Regions from separate parts of the Homo sapiens genome. Here region 2 is linked to region 1. The links are contacts of gene promoters, found by promoter capture Hi-C in blood cells and fetal thymus (Javierre and others, 2016). All regions are on one chromosome and are shown on one strand. Each heading gives the region's core, a stretch centred on a gene start or on the middle of the fragment in contact. The rest is flanking DNA. Distances are from core to core; before and after follow the strand shown.

Region 1 (5,656 bases), core at 839-3,338:
ATCCCTGTGGAAGCCCTTGAGGTATCTGAAGACCATATGGGTCTCTGCTTCCCACTTTCACTGCATCTCAGGCCCTCTCCAACCCAAGCCAAGCGCTTGACTCTCAGCCATTCCTCAGGCCCTGGCTGGATGAGCGAAGGTCCTTCTGCCAGGAGGAGCCAGCTCCCCTTGAGGTCTGACTCATGCAGTGCAGGCCCAGGCCTCAACCAGCTACAGATGGTGCTCCTGCCCAGAGACCTTGGCAGGGACCTTCTCCTCCCTGGGCCAGGTTCCTCATCAGCATAAGAGGTTTGATCTAGAGGCTCCCTCAGGTGCTTCCAGATTTACTTATTTTTATTTATTTGTTTTTTTCTTTTTTGAGATGGAGTCTTGCTCTGTCACCCAGGCTGGAGTGCCATGGCGCCACCTCAGCTCACTGCAACCTATGCCTCCTGGGTTCAAGCGATTCTCCTGCCTCGGCCTCCCCAGTAGCTGGGATTACAGGTGTCTGCCACCACACCCCCTAATTTTTTGAATTTTAGTAGAGATGGGGTTTCATCATCTTGGCCAGGCTGGTCTTGAACTCTTGACCTTGTGATCCACCTGCCTCGGCCTCCCAAACTGCTGGAATTACAGGGGTGAGCCACCTCGCCCGGTCGGTGCTTCCAGCTTTAAATATTTTGAGGCAGTTGAGGTTCCTGATGGGAGGTCCCCCACTCCTCTCAAGTTGTTGAATCACTGAATTTATCATGTTTAACAGATGTCTGACTGTCCTCCCGGTGATGCTGTTAAGCTAGGAATGAAGATAGCTGCATCATGGAAACACAACTGGGACTGACCCTTGGCCTTTTTAGAAATTTGATCCAGAAATGGGCTCCAAAAGCCAATTCCTTTTTCCCTCCAAAATGTTCATTTTTCCTTCTATCTATTTATGCATTTACCAAGGCCAAGTTGCTACGTTACAGCACCCGGCTCCCGGCCTTAGGGTTCCTGCTTTTCCATGGGGTCTTGGGGTGGTGCATCCCCGGCACCCCTACAGCATCCGCCCCTTCCGAGCATGTCTTCCCCGTCACAGAGAACTTCATGTTGGCGCCTCCAAAAGTTGCCGGAGGAATTAGGGAACAGGGTGGGGGTGGATGAGACTGAGGCCAGAGAGGGGGCTGGCGGTCTGCCCTGAGGACCCCCGTCCCACCCGCCGCCATAGCTGCATGGCCCCGGGACCTCCCTGTCGTACCTGAGAGGAGGGCCTGGCCCGTGAACTGCCCGTACACGGAGGCAGCATGGGGAAAGGCATTGAAGGGCGGGACCCCGGAGCCGACTTGCTGCAGATCCAAAAAGGCGGAGCTAGATAAAGAGGAAGGGGTGGAGCTAGAACTGGACACCTCGGGGGTTTCCTGCTTTATGGCGAAGGGTGAGTGAGGATCTGCCGGAGGGAGGGAGACAACAAGGAGAGAGGGGTGTGAGATGGCGGGGAGGGAACACGCACAAGCCAAGCCGTGGGATGTGGAGGGTGCGGGCGGGGCGCGGGGCAGGCTCAGCTGCCCTCAGAGTCTGGGCTGGGGAGAGCCGGGGCCCACGAGGCGTGGCAAGGCGGGGAGAGAGAAGCTAGACCTCCCTGCTGCGCTTCTGCAGCGAAAATGGAGAGACCCGGAAGGCGTGTGTGCGCCCGCCTCTCCCACAGGAGGGAGCGCGGAGACCCGGGAGCGGCCTAGGACCGGAGGCGCGACCCCTCGGCCCACCTTGAGGCCCGGCCTAGGACCGGAGGCGCGACCCCTGGGCCCACCTTGAGGCCCGGCCTAGGACTGGAGGCGCGACCCCTCGGCCCACCTTGCGGGAGCCGCCTAGGACCGGAGGCGCGACCCCTCGGCCCAGCTTGAGGCCCGGCCTAGGACCGGAGGCGCGACCCCTCGGCCCACCTTGCGGGAGCCGCCTAGGACCGGAGGCGCGACCCCTCGGCCCACCTTGAGGCCCGGCCTAGGACCGGAGGCGCGACCCCTGGGCCCACCTTGAGGCCCGGCCTAGGACTGGAGGCGCGACCCCTCGGCCCACCTTACGGGAGCCGCCTAGGGCCGGAGGCGCGACCCCTCGGCCCAGCTTGAGGCCCGGCCTAGGACCGGAGGCGCGACCCCTCGGCCCACCTTGAGGCCCGGCCTAGGACTGGAGGCGCGACCCCTCGGCCCACCTTGAGGCCCGGCCTAGGACCGGAGGCGCGACCCCTGGGCCCACCTTGAGGCCCGGCCTAGGACTGGAGGCGCGACCCCTCGGCCCACCTTGAGGCCCGGCCTAGGACCGGAGGCGCGACCCCTGGGCCCACCTGGCGGCCCGGCCGGCACAGCCCGCCTCTCCTCTCCAGGCCAGGGCCCCACACCTTCCGCCTGACAGCCAGCCAAGCTCTTCAGTCCCCCGCCCTCCACCTGCCAGGGAGGCTCCGGGCGTTGTACCTGCCACCACGGGGTAGGTCTGGTGAGTCGAGAGGTTGCGCCCCAGTGGCGTGTTGGAAGGGGTCAGGGTGGCCTTCCCGTCGTCCAGGGTGCTGTTGAGCAAGGGCAGCGGGTAGAGGCCCTGGGGAGCAAAGAGAAGTCAGCGCACAGAGACGATCCAACAAGCCGACCTTCCTGCAGACCCTGAGCCTGTGTCTTAGGACTTGGCAGCCCTCATCTCCCCAGGAGAGGTCCTCATCGCCCCCTTCTTCCTTTACGTTCTCAACTCCACTCGGCACGTTTCGTTCATGCTCATTGTCCTCCCGCATCCCTGGAATTCAAGGCCAGCTGGTAGCATGGGTGCCCAGACGTGGGATAGAGAGTCTCAGCCAGAGGACCACACCCTGGTTGGATGGCTGGTCGGCTTCCTGGTTTCACCACACTGTTGGGACCCACAGAATGCAGGACGGTGCCAAGGACTGGAGCAGTCTCCAACCGGACTGTTCAGGGTCCTTGCATCTGTTAATTTATTCTTCCCCAGATAGGAAACCCAGGCACAAAGGTTTAAGAAACTTGTCCCACTTCCAGATGGGCCAAAGATAGGATTCAGATTCGAGGGATCAGAATGTGTCTGCTCTCAACCACTGCCCTAAACTGGGTGACATAAGGACCACTTCTTACATTTGCAAAGAGCTTATATCAGAGCTTTGCCTCTGTTGTCCTAGTAGAGTCCCCCAGCAGCCCAGTGACATGGGTGAGTAATATTATGTCTGTGTTTTATATGTGGAGCCTGGAACTCAGGTAAATGGCCCAATTTTGTATAGTGAAACAGACTAAACCCGGGATTTTTCGGCTGTGGACCCAGGTGCTTTACCCACCACGTGGATTTCTTCTTTTCTCTCTCCACATCCAAACAAATAGAAGTGTGCAAGTTCGGCTTGAAAATGGTATTGAGAGTTGTTTTTGTTGGAAACACTCTTTGTCAAGTACCTGGGGGTCTTCATCAGTAAGACCTCATTTTAGATGCCTCCTGGCCTCCCCTTCCCAGGAGCACAGCTATGACCTTAGGTACTCCTTCCGAAAAGAACTTGTTTAACTAAAGGTAAGTGTACCTCATCCTCACCATGGCCTCCTTCCACTGGGGAAGCAGATAGCGCAGAAAAAAGAACACACCCATTCCCCACATACCTTCACACTCGTCACATACCTGCTACGTGAGATGTGCAAAGCTGAATTCAGGGAATGCTCAGTAGTTACATAACAGTGCCACTAAAGGCAATTGTTTTCAGTGATTTCCATCGAGCTGGGTTCTGCAAAGATCCACAGCACTTTCCGGTTGCATGCTGGGCACTTTTGGAAGCTGCAGTCAATTCTGGAGGCCACCAGGGCACCATTAGCACATAGCAGCAATTATTGACTAAATGGTGCTCTGGTTCCATGCCTTCCAAGGGGGCCCACTTAGAGGCAGGGTGGAGTTGCTTAGGGCCTTTTTTTTTTTTTTTTTTTGTAGACGGAGTTTTGCTCTTGTTGCCCAAGCTGGAGTGCAATGGTGCGATCTTCGCTTACTGCAACCTCTGCTTCCTGGGTTCAAGTGATTCCCCTGCCTCAGCCTCCCGAGTAGCAGGGATTACAGGTGCGTGCTACCATGCCAGGCTAATTTTTTGTATCTTTAGTAGAGACAGGAGTTTCACCATGTTGGCCAGGCTAGTCTTAAACTCCTGACCTCATGATCTGCCTGGCTTGACCTCCCAAAGTGTTGGGATTACAGGCATGAGCCGTTGCACCTGGCCAGGGTGTGTCTTATTGAAATTGAACAAAATACCTAATTTCTAGAGCGTATAAGAGAAGTTTAAAATGCTTTATGGATGTGTTGTTTTGACAGCAAAATATCTACTCAGAATCCTATAGCTATTTCAAAATCCAAGTAACTTAGAAAAAAAGGAAAAAGAAAACCTATATAGTCAAATCTTTTGGTGATTTTGTATTCAATGACTGAAACTTCCCAGTGATTATTGGGCTTTTTAGCTGGAATTGAACTTGAATCGGGGCAGAGCAGCACAATGCTTCAGAACTTCAGCGACTCTGAGCCCTGGTTCTGCAATGACCTGCCAAGTAGCTTTAGTCTACTTGACTGCTCTGAACCTTAATTTTCTCACCTGTATGGGAATCATAGACTCTACTTTATGAGGCTGACGTAAGCATTACATGAAATTTTGTATACTTATACATAATGTGCTTAGCACCGAATACTTGGTGACAGCAGATGCCCAATGAGAGTTATCACAGATATTATTTCAGAATCGTGAAGAGTCAGAAGCCACCAAATTCTTGATTTCTGTCAATAAACTGATATTCATATTCTGTTGATTTTTTTTGATGCATTTGTAAAATAGGGAAACAAGAGCTGTATGACTTCTAGCTATGTCTGGTCATGAAATAGCAACCAGGAATAAGGCCACATGATGTTTCTGATGAACACTTCCCCCTGCCCTTTTTTTTTTTTTTTCAGATGGAGCCTCGCTCTGTCACCCAGGCTGGAGTGCAGTGGCACAATCTCGGGTCACTGCAACCTCCGCCCCCCAGCTTCAAGCGATTCTCCTGTCTCAGCCTCCCGAGTAGCTAGGATTACAGGTGCACGCCACCAGGCCTGGCTAATTTTTATATTTTTAGTAGAGATGGGATTTTGCCTTGTTGGCCAGGCTGGTCTCAAACTCCTGACCTCAGGTGACCCATCCACCTTGGCCTCCCAAAGTGCTGGGACTACAGGTGTGAGCCACCATGCCTGGTCCCCCACTTGTTGATTTTGCAGAAAAGATAGCTGTGTTACAACCTGTCCTAAGGTCAGGTATGAATACTTGTGCTTCTTTCTTGGCTCCCCAAGCCAGAGGGCATTCCTATGCCCAGGTGAGAGAGCACGGAGTGTTACTTTGGCAGCACAGTCAGTTACCAGAGGTAGGAAAAGCAAAGGCCAGGCAGGACATGAGGGGCCCTTGCACTGGCTGGTTCTCCCTGCCTTCACCACCCTCCAGGTGAATGACTGGGTGAATAATGATTGACTGAGGAGGTAATGAATAATTTATGGACACTGCTGGACCTCAGTCTCCTCATCTGAAAGATGAGTGGTTGGAGAAGTTTAATGGTTTTCAAATGCTTTTTTTTTCAGTCTTCAAATAAGTGTTTACGTAGAAGCACCATATCTGAAACAGGTGACAGTGGACCAGTCTGAATGAAATGAGGGTTGGCAGGCCTGAGCTCCA
Region 2 (5,656 bases), core at 2,169-4,668, 130 kb before region 1:
TCTCAAAAAAAAAAAAAAAAGGCTGGAAAACTGGAGATTATTTTGAGGCCAGGCGTATTCATGTTCAGGCCAACAGGTACTAGCTGAGCCTTGTGCTAGTCACAAGAGAAGCAGCAAATGACAAGGGGAGGACAGGAGTCTGTCAGGCCAAGCACTGGTCCCTTATGGAGACAAAGAAGAATGAGCCGGACCACAGCTATGAGGTTGACCTAATGGTTTCTCTTGCAGGCACAGTGCCATTGCATTTCCTACAGGGCCCCACTTAGGAGGCACTTCTATCACTCTATCGCACAGATGCAGAAACTGAGGCTCGGAGAGGTTAAGGAACTTATCCCAGTTAGTAAGTGGTGCCGACAAGAATCAAATTTAGACAGTTCTGACAGAAAGCCATGTTTGTAATCACCACATATTCATGCTCCTTCTTAGCACAGGGTGGCTAAAAAGCTCAAACAAGCCAAGATTTAAATACCACAAAGAAGATCCAAGTGACCTGTGAGGAGGAGACTGCCAGTGGATGGGCGATCAGGAAGACTTTGTAGGAGAGGAAAAATATTTTTTTCTCAGTTCTCATAAGTTCTTAGTTGGAATGGGCAGATGAATAAGAGAAAAACAAGCAGATGTTAATTAACATGTATATTTCTTATATACATGGGAGACACCCAGGGAATAAGTAGCTTTCAAAGAGGTGGCTTTGAATTCCAGCTTATATAGTGTCTTCAACAAAGAACAGTAAAGTTTTAGAGACATGACAAGGGAATTAAAAAGGACTTTGAGTCTCTAAGAGTAGTGACTTGTGGAAAGGCGAAATGTCAGATAAAGGCTAGTTTGTAAAGCTTGTTAATGTAGATTCCCCTGGTGCCATCTCCAGACTGATAAGAGTCTTAAAGTTGTCTTCGCTGGTTGACCTTTGTCCTCTCTGGTAGACGCAGTGGGGGTGAGGAGTAGGGGTTAGGGTAGCGAGGGGGTTTCCTTCCACCTGTGGGAAGAGGCATTCACATTTTAAGATTGGGAGCAGGAGGCCTGATGTGATTACAGCTGTGATGTAAAACCGACATTCAATGATATTTTAATATCTCATACCTGTAATCTTTTTAAAAACTTGGGAAAACAACTTATAATTTTTACAAGAACATTAATAAAAATAACAAGTTGCACCTACTATAGCCACTATTTCATAAAAGAAAGGCCATTTTTACATTTCCTCTCCACTCAGTGAGCATGATCTCAGAAGAAAGGACTGCCTTTCTCAAGAATGAAGAGTTAACAATAGCATCCCAACATATTTAAATATCAAGCCCTGGGCTCTCGATTTTCTAATTTAATTTAGCTCATCATTAAAACTGGCACTGGTCTAAGGACCAACATGTAGAAACCACCGCTCTGAAAGATCTGGCAGTAGCATAGAAGGCAGATTGGAGCTGGGGAAGAGAGACTTTTTTATTCTTTTTTTATTTTTATTTTTTGAGATGGAGTTTCTCTCTTGTTACCCAGGCTGGAGTGCAATGGCGTGATCTTGGCTCACTGCAACCTCCACCTCCCCAGTTCAAGTGATTCTCCTGCCTCAGCCTCCCAAGTAGCTGGGATTACAGGTGTGCGTTATCACACCCGGCTAATTTTGTATTTTTAGTAGAGACAGGGTTTCTCCATGTTGGTCAGGCTGGTCTCGAACTCCCGAACTCAGGTGATCTGCCCACCTCGGTCTCCCAAAGTGCTGGGATTACAGGTGTGAGCCACCGTGCCCCGCCCGAGACTTTTTTTCTTAAGGAGATTGTCTTAGTCACCTCAGACTGCCATAACAAAATACCACAGGCTGGGTGGCTTAACCAACAGGAAGAATGTATTTGCTCCCAGTTCTGGAGGCTGTGATCAAGTCTCAGATCATCCACTTGCTGGCTGGCAGACAGCTACCTTCTCACTGTGGCCTTTCCTTGGTGTCTGTGCAGGCACGGGGACAGTGAGAGCTCTCTGGTGTCTCTACCTCTTCTTATAAGGACACCAATTCTATTGTGTTAGGGCCCCACCCTTATTTAACCTCAATTACTTTCTTATAGGCTCTATCTTCAAATACAGCCACACTGGGAGTTAGGACTTTGATATGTGGATTGTGGAGGGATTCAGTTCACACAGAGCTATTGCAATGGTTTGGACAAGCAGCTCTAATTGGGGAAGGGGGAAGCCTGTAGGCATGGGAAGGAGAGGTCAGGCGTGTCACGTGCGTCTGTGTGAAAAGACCACCAAACAGGCTTTGTGTGAGCAACAAGGCTGTTTATTTCACCTGGGTGCAGGTGGGCTGAGTCTGAAAGAGAGTCAGCGAAGGGAGATGGGGTGGGGAGGTTTTATAGGATTTGGGTAGGTAGTGGAAAATTACAGTCAAAGGGGGTTTCTCTCTTTGGGCAGGCGTGGGGGTCACAAGGTGCTCAGTGGGGGAGGTTCTGAGCCAGGAAAAGGAATTTCACAAGGTTAATCGCTCAGTTAAGGTGGGGCAGGAATAAATCACAATGGTGGAATGTCATCAGTTAAGGCAGGAACTGGCCATTTTCACTTCTTTTGTGATTCTTCACTTGCTTCAGGCCATCTGGATGTATATGTGCAGGTCACAGGGCATACATTGGCTTAGCTTGGGCTCAGAGGCCTGACAAGGCACAGAAGGAGCTGGGATAGAGGTGCAAAGTACTCATGCTGACCTGACATCCCATGCCCACGGCAGACATGACTACTTGATCGGACAATACTTTCTTGGAATCAAAGACACAACTTCACAGTCCTCAGCATCATAGTTCAGGCAGCCTGTATCAGTAGATCAGAGTGGGCACATGGCCTGGTGCTATCACTCCATCCTGTGAGGGGAGATGGGATTGGAATGGAGGTGGAGGAGTCACAGGTGGTCCTGATATCACAGGCCTGGGAGTCTGAAAGAAGTGCAGTAGGTAGTATTATGGCCCTCAAAGACATCTGTGTCCTACTGTCTAGAGTCAATTAAAGTGTTACCTAACATAGAAAAAAGGATTTTGCAGGTGGGATTAAACTAAGGATCTCAAGATAGAAAGACTCTCCTGGAGTATCCAGTTGTGTCCAATGTAAGAACAAGCGTTCTCAAAATAGGGACACAGGAGATTGAATTGCAAAGGAGATGTGCTGATAAACGGAGAGGTTGGAGTGATGCCGCCATGAGGCAAGGAATGTGGGTGGCCTCTAGCAGCTAGCAATGATTCGGAAATGGATTCTCCCCCAGAGTCCAGAAAGATCACAGCAGTGCTGACACCTTGATTTGAGCCCAGTGTCACCTCTGTCAGACTTCTGCCCTATAGAACTGTAAGAGGATAAATTTGTGTTTTAAGGCACAAAGTTTATGGTAATTTGTTATAGCAGCAATGGGAAACTAATACAAGAAGGGTTGTGTTATCAACAGAAATACAGCAATCAGAAGAAAGATGGTTGGGGAGAGCAGAGGGTGGGGTGGGAAGGTGATGGATTCTGTTTGGGACATTCTGGGTGTCATATGAATATTATTGGGGAACTGTCCATCAAAAGCTCAGACTTCAAAGAAAGAAAGGAAGGAGCAACAATATTTTGAAAGGGAGAAAGTAGGTAATATTCAATATGTGTTGAGTACCTACAAGGTTTTTAGTTCTTTCACCAAGTTATTTTATTTAATTTTTATGGCATCAAGGGGTGTTTTTTTTTTTTCTTAAACCAAATTTTCTCAGTTAAGCATCCCATGTAAGTGGCCAGGGGTTAAGAGATGTGACTAAGACTAGACAGAGTGATTTTCATCATTACATGGTACTATGGTTCTACTGAAGCACTGAGGAAGGAAGTCAAGAGAGTTCCTGAGAAATGTCTGGAGTCTTAGTAACATGCAAAGTGAGGCAGAGGTATTGTCAGTGTTAGCTGGTCACTTTGAAAGGTTAGAGGTAAATAAAGTTCAGGGCAATGGTACTTGGAGAGGAGTGAATCTTTGGTAACCTGGAGGAGATGCTTCTCAGAGGAAAATTTCTTCACAGCATGAAGTCACCAGCTCTAAGACTAGTGGGTGTTCTGGGGGATGTTAGCAGTGACTCACTGACTGTTGGCCCAGTGAGGGGAGGGATGAAAGGCTGGGTAGTGGGTAGAGAATCTGACTCCTCCTGCCCCCACATGTCTATTCCTGGGCCTTCTCATGGTGGGGGCAAAAGGTATGCAAAGGGATTTCCGCAGTGTCTGAGTGCTCCCAGGAGACGGAAAAGTAACTGATGACTTGGAGTTGGAGTCTTGTTGGCTCAGGCAGCTGGGGCGTTTTGGGATTTCAACACCTCCCTTTAGTTTCTATGTATGGTGCTGAGCAAGTAGTCAAAGACTTTGGTCTTGCTTTACCCCAGTAGCCCACAAGCCTGAGTACATGGCTAACATTTATTGGGCACTTAGTGTGTGCCAAAGAGCTTTATGAGACAGGTTCTTTTTGAGTCCCATTATACTGATAATGGGACTGATAAGAAACAGAAGGTCAGAAAGGCCCAGTAACTTGGGCAAGGTCATGTAGCTAGTAAGTGGTCCAGCTGAAATTTAAAACCAGGTTTATCCAACTCCAAATCCCACATCTGATTTATTTTGCCATGAATTAAAACATAGTTCTGATTTTGAGAAACTCCCAGTCCCAGTGGGAAAACAGATGGAATCACAAATTACCATAACACAGTGTAGTGATGTAGATATAAAAACAAAGACATGGGAACCCTGAAAGGAAGTTGTAACACCAATAGAGGAATGCACGGAGGAGATCTTTCAGAGGAGGTAGCCTCGTAGCTGGGCTCAGGGGTGGATGAGTTTCTGGCTAGAAGCGCATTGTGGGTAGAGGGAGAACATATATAGAAAGGCATGAAGATGGTGGACATGTTTGGAAAGAGTGAGTACTAGACTGATGAACACGATGAGTCAGGAGCTTATGACGTCAGGGGCTACTGCTAGCCTAGCTAATGACTGAAGATTCTGTGAAAAGAAAACCCTAACATTTCCAGCTGAGTACTAGGGCCATGGTGATTATATATCATCTCTCATGACAACACAAATGTTTGGGCTTACTTATCATCCTGCTCAGTAATCATTATGTCACTCATTAAAGATGTATCAGGGTAAATTTTAGGTGAGAATTGATTAGAAATGTAAACTCTATATATGTAGTTACAGGCTTCACAGTTTGCCACTCAAACAATATGGTCATCCAATCATGAGGCACAACCTTCTGCTCAGAACTTTTTTATAATTGGGAGAAAGTGACATCCGAGTTCCATCTCTTCTGAGAACTGTGCAGCTCAGAAATCTTCTTCCCTTTTTTGATCCCCCAGTTGGGTGAGATGACATTAACAGTGTGTTATAAGCACTTTTCATGTTTACTACCCCATATTCAAAATTAAGCATTTCAAACAACTGTATAATTGTCTATAAATGTAGCATTATTAGTTAATTTTCCTTTTAACACATTGAGGTTACCTCTAATGTTTTGCTATTTTTAACTATGTTGAAATAATCATGTGGTTTTTATTCTTTGAATTATTTTATATTGTAATGTTCCCTGAAATGAAATTAGTTGATCAAAAGATGAGTAATCTTTTCATGACTTTTGATACATGTCACTCAATCACCTTCTGGAAGAGTTGGAACAAGAGCCTATTGCTGGCAT

What was found. Contacts are between HindIII fragments. The CHiCAGO score rates a contact against its expected background, and 5 or more counts as called.
Region 2: a contact is called between a fragment that was not itself captured here and the fragment with the promoter of PAX8-AS1 in region 1, in 2 of 17 cell types (M2 macrophages and M0 macrophages). The highest score is 5.3, in M2 macrophages.

What each region holds. Positions count from the first base shown.
Region 1 is chr2:113,234,181-113,239,836 of GRCh38, forward strand. It overlaps PAX8-AS1 (PAX8 antisense RNA 1), which reads left to right and starts at 2,089. Exons shown (of 6, transcript NR_015377.2): 1 at 2,089-2,442. PAX8 (paired box 8) reads right to left here. Exons shown (of 12, transcript NM_003466.4): 8 at 2,421-2,541; 9 at 1,214-1,402. RefSeq lists an enhancer at 986-1,175 and a silencer at 1,426-1,505. The HindIII fragment of the contact is 8,895 bases long and covers 1-5,656 here.
Region 2 is chr2:113,100,322-113,105,977 of GRCh38, forward strand. It overlaps a transcript of IL1RN not described here. Among named protein-coding and RNA genes, the nearest start is that of IL1RN, 24 kb to the right of the region's middle. The HindIII fragment of the contact is 5,174 bases long and covers 832-5,656 here.